2 separate regions of the Homo sapiens genome follow, and region 2 is linked to region 1. Evidence: promoter capture Hi-C in 16 types of primary human blood cells and fetal thymus (Javierre and others, 2016). All regions are on one chromosome and are shown on one strand. Each heading gives the region's core, a stretch centred on a gene start or on the middle of the fragment in contact. The rest is flanking DNA. Distances are from core to core; before and after follow the strand shown. Region 1 holds the start of MYOC (myocilin). Region 2 overlaps VAMP4 (vesicle associated membrane protein 4).

Evidence for each region. The method cuts DNA at HindIII sites, captures the fragments that hold promoters and counts their contacts. A CHiCAGO score of 5 or more calls a contact.
Region 2: a contact is called between a fragment that was not itself captured here and the fragment with the promoter of MYOC in region 1, in 2 of 17 cell types (megakaryocytes and erythroblasts). The highest score is 13.3, in megakaryocytes.

What each region holds. Positions count from the first base shown.
Region 1 is chr1:171,651,324-171,654,023 of GRCh38, forward strand. It overlaps MYOC (myocilin), which reads right to left and starts at 1,365. Exons shown (of 3, transcript NM_000261.2): 1 at 685-1,365. The coding sequence starts at 1,288. The HindIII fragment of the contact is 6,597 bases long and covers 1-2,700 here.
Region 2 is chr1:171,717,178-171,719,877 of GRCh38, forward strand. VAMP4 (vesicle associated membrane protein 4) reads right to left here. Exons shown (of 8, transcript NM_003762.5): 4 at 1,994-2,044. Among named protein-coding and RNA genes, the nearest start is that of VAMP4, 24 kb to the right of the region's middle. The HindIII fragment of the contact is 3,201 bases long and covers 1-2,700 here.

The DNA of each region.
Region 1 (2,700 bases), core at 115-2,614:
CCCAACACCTCACCCCCGCACCCCCCCCACACACACACAGACTCACCTTTAGGCAAGAAGGGACCAGGATGAACAGAAGAGCCTCTCAGAAAAAGCCATCTCAAGAATTTGTCTGATGACTTAAAAGCAGAGGTTCTCAGATTGGACTGAGTAAGAAAACTTTCAGAACAACATATTAAGAAAACTGACAGAGAGGTGCCATCTCTTTATTTTGCCAGGGAAGAACATTTAAAAATAAACAAAAACTTACCACTTATTATCATTTCCCAAATCTATTGTAATTTCATAAATAAAGGTCATTTTAACATCAAAAGGTACAAATAACAATCTGAGCAAAGGTTCAAAAAAGGATAGTTTTTCAAAAGGGACAATTGACAACTTTCTACTGCTCATATGCAGACACATCTCACCCGGTCCTTTTATTTCTCCTTTTGCTATGGACTGTGAAAACTGACATGGAGGGGCACAAGAACTCTGAACCACTAATCTAAATGAAGCTCTCAGGAGCTAAATTACTAGTAATACTTGAAGGTGATCGCTGTGCTTTCCTTAATTCATCTGTCTTGTGCTAGCTGTGCAGTCTCTAGGAGAAAGGGCAGGCAGGGAGGCCTGGAGCGCCTGTAGCAGGTCACTACGAGCCATATCACCTGCTGAACTCAGAGTCCCCCCACTCTGCATTCTTACCTTCTCTGGAGCCTGGTGGCACAGCCCGAGCAGTGTCTCGGGTCTGGGGACACTGGCCCCTTCTCAGCCTTGCTACCTCCTGGCTGCTGCTTTCCAACCTCCTGGCCAGATTCTCATTTTCTTGCCTTAGTCGCTTCTTCTCTTCCTCCAGAACTGACTTGTCTCGGAGGAGGTTGCTGTAGGCAGTCTCCAACTCTCTGGTTTGGGTTTCCAGCTGGTCCCGCTCCCGCCTCAGGGTGCCCAGCTCCCTCTGCAGCCCCTCCTGGGTCTCCTGGGGCCTGGCAGCCTGGTCCAAGGTCAATTGGTGGAGGAGGCTCTCCAGGGAGCTGAGTCGAGCTTTGGTGGCCTCCAGGTCTAAGCGTTGGGTGCTGCTGTCTCTCTGTAAGTTATGGATGACTGACATGGCCTGGCTCTGCTCTGGGCAGCTGGATTCATTGGGACTGGCCACACTGAAGGTATACTGGCATCGGCCACTCTGGTCATTGGCCTTCCTGAGCTGAGCTGTCCTGGCCCCCACATCCCACACCAGGCAGGCCAGAAGCAGCAGCTGGACAGCTGGCATCTCAGGCCCAAAGCTGCAGCAACGTGCACAGAAGAACCTCATTGCAGAGGCTTGGTGAGGCTTCCTCTGGAAAGCTCTGCTGTGCTGAGAGGTGCCTGGATGGGTGGCCTTGCTGGCTCATGCCCGAGCTCCAGAGAGGTTTATATATACTGGGGAGCCAGCCCTTCATGGGGGAAGACAGAGGTGGCCACGTGAGGCTGGGTGGGGCTGTGCACAGGGGGGTTGCCTTCACGCTGCCAGCAAGATTCTTAGAAAATAACCTTCCAGAAGTCTGTTTGGAGTTTCTTTTTAAAAAGAACATCCCAATTTATGCACCCATACCCCAATAATAGTTCCTATATCTCCACCTGGTTTTACACACACACACACACACACACACACGTACACACACTTACACCAGGACTACTGGTGTGCTGATTTCAACAAGGATATATTTCTAGTTTATATTTCCATTCACTCTGCAAACTCATTGAGAACCTGCACTGTGCCAGGCACTATGCTAGGAACTGGAGATCCAAACAAGTCCTTTAAGACGTAGCAGGGACAGAGAAAAATAACAGCCAGCCAGAACACAAGGACAGCACCCTACCAGGCTCCAGGGAGAGCATTCCTATAGAAGCGGCAGATTTCCCCCCTCACCCCTAGCTTTAAAACAACTGTGTATCTTTGGGAGAACTTTCTAATTTCAGTCTTGCATCTCAGGCACCAATGTCAATGTTAGCCTCTAAATCAGTTCTTACTCTGTGTGTGTGCATGCCAAGAACCTCATTGGTGAAATCTGGGGAACTCTTCTCAGAAAGATGTTTTCAAATATATAAAATATAGATTACAAAGGAAACAAATGATAATGAAATATGATTATCAAAATATCAAAATTTTAAACATGTTTTATTAATATGTTAAAAACAAGATCCAGCAGGAGGTCTAATTTCAAAGTAGTTTTGAGTATAAATATTTCACTTACAACGTATCTGCAACAACTGTAATATAGTATAAAATGTCTGTGATTTCTATTGGTAATGACAAAATCACAGGTACTGTTATTACCACTTTGAGTTTATGGCTCTATTCGCAATGGAATAAAATGTTAAATTTAGTTAGAAGGTGGTAAAAACAAAAATGTAATTTTTTCCTCATTCAAATTCACAGGCTTTCTGGACTGTAGGTTAATAATCCCTGCTTTACATTAATAAACCCAAAGAGAAAAAACAAAAAGCAAATGGCAATAGCCAATAAATATACCAAAACTGTCAGAAGTAACTTTAAGCCACTTGAAATAATGATTGCCTTTGAGCAACTTTATGTTGTTAATACCAACAACAGTGTCAATACTTGTGAAGTAAATATTTCCAAACTGCCCTGGCAGACTCACCTCCAGAGTGGAGAAACACAGTTTGCTCTAAAGATTCTATTCTTATTTGATTGGTTCTGCAGTTAAGCCTGAACTTGAGACA
Region 2 (2,700 bases), core at 77-2,576, 66 kb after region 1:
CAGGAAACAGAGCATACTGGCAGGACAAAAAATAGGTGTGTCATCAGTGGAGGCCTCTTCTCCAGTGGCAGCTTAGGCAAAAGAGAACATGTGAGTGGATAAAGAAGTCATTCTGGCTCAGTGCAGGAGAATGGTTCAGACATTACACATTGGCATCCACATATGCCACACAGGCTTGAACTACAGCTAATTTGAGTCCTGGTAGAATGCTTGTGATCTCCCTGGAACATGAGAGAATGAGTGGCTCATGAGGTCTTCTTCCATCCACCTCCCTGTTTCCCTTATGAGACTATCATAAGGCAGTTTCTTATCACCTCCCAGGTTCTGATGCGGTATAAACTTTCTGCAGGCTCTATGTGCAGACTATAAAAACCACAGCCTAGAAATAGCTCCTTTGCAATAGAGTATCCCACAATTTGTACTGCAGCCATTGACCTCCCCTTTTTTTTTTAAGAGAAGGGGGTTTCACTTTGTTGCTCAGGCTGGTCTCAAAACTTTTGGCTTCAAACAATCCTCCTTTGAAGGAGAATCCCAAAGTGCTGGGATTACAGGCGTGAAACACTGCACCCAGCTGTATCATTATTTTTGGTGTGCAGGACAATGACCCTGAGAGCTACTAACTTTGGCTACTCTTCCTTTTACTATATAAGTAATAAATTGCATCTAAAAGTGGCTTGTTGTATCTTTAGTCAAATAAGAGACTTGAAACAGTACAGATTCTCTCTTCTACTGGCCTCAAAGAAGCACCATGACATCTATAGCTGCAGGAAATAAATTCTGATAACTTCCTGAGTTGGTCATACCTGGTGATACCCTGATTGCCATCTTGTTAAACCTGAGCAAAAGGCTCACCTAAGAAGTGCCTGAACTCCTGACCCAAGGAAACTGTGAGATGATAAATGTGTGTTGTTTTAAGCTGCTAAGTTTATGGTAATTTGTTACATGGCAATAGAAAACTAATACACCCAGTCTAGTACCTGTAATCATTTATTGGTTCTTTGGTTCCATATCTCAAAATCCATTAGTTAGAATTAGGCTAAGTATGGAAATATTTCTTCACACCAACAGCTACCTGAGTAAAGCCCAAGTATCTCACCAATAACTAGATACTTCATTATAGAACCCTTCCCACAATGTGCCATCTATACCCAGGCTTAGGGTAGTGACTATTATCCCTCCTTAGGTCTTGAACCTGGGCCATGCAGTTCACATTCCACAGTTAGTCTTTACAGCTTGGTCAGTTTCCAGAGCCTTCCCTCAAGTGACTCACTGCTCTGTCTATTCCTTCTCCCCTCCAGTCAGGACTCATATCTTTCCGATATCAGACACATTGATTACAGCATATTATACTCATCTATCACCAAATAATATATACCTCAAAGGTTTTAAACCACAAATTAGCCATAAAACTTAGTTCAATATATGGGTTATGATAAATAAGAGATATGAAAAAATTCTGGAAGTAGATAAAAACATGCAGTACATCAACAAATTAAAGCTATTATATTACCTTTGTTATCATTCTGAAAATAGGAATCAAGCTACAGATTTAAAACCAAAATAGACCTTCAGACTATGCTAAATAAATGGATTTGACATAAGGTAATCAAGTCATAAAAAAACCAACAATCCTGCATTTCCTTAGCTATAATTCTGAGAAAATAAAATGAATTAGGTTTTTATAACCCAGCAGTTATATTTAGTCTTCATCAGGGGTCAACAACTTTTTCTGTAAAGGACCAGACACTCAGCAGATATTTTAGATTTTGTGGGCCATAAAATGTGACACAGCTTTGTCACAACTACTCAACTTTGCCATTGTAGCTTGAAAGTACCTATCGATAATATGAAAACAAATGGGCATGGCTATGTTCCAATAAAACTTTATTTACAAAAACAGGCTGCAGCCAGATTTGGCTCACAGGCTGCAGTTTGCCAATCTCTAGTCTACACAGAAATATGATTATCATTTAAACAAATGAACAAAACTTACTGCTTAATTTTATCATTTCTAGGTCCAAATCTTGGTCCAGATGGTCCCCTTCTGAAAACAAGTACATACCAAGTACATATTAGTAGTGACAGGATTAAAACAAAACAAAAAAAAGATAGAAAGTATACACAAATACAAACAATCAAGCTGAACTCTAAACATGGATCAGTTATTTATCATAAGGGACCACATTTTACTGATACTGGTGAAACTGAATAATAGGTAATCATGTCTTTACTTCATTGGCACTTATTACTAGCCACAATTAAGCTAATTCTTCTGCATGTTAAAACTTTCAGAGAAATTAGGGTTTATATTATCTTATATAACAAACTTACACAGAATTTGTTCTGATCATTAAACTCTGAAATATCCTAACTACTTAACTGCTAGTGAATATTAATATCTTTATGGTCAACTGTAGAACTAAAAGCGCAATTCATCTTGAATTTAGACTATAATGAAATGAGGAAACTACAAAGTGAACTGCCGATTGACAAAGATGGATATAGAGAAAAATTCATTGAAGACACTAACAATTTTAAGTATGTTTTTGATTATTCATCTTAAACTTATCAACATAGCAAAAGGGAAATGCAAGATATTAAGAAAATTTTAACATTACTCAGATTATTATCTCCTTATTGTAGTTGAGTGTATATCACACCTTAACCAATCCATTTTAATATTCTTGAAATGAAAACATT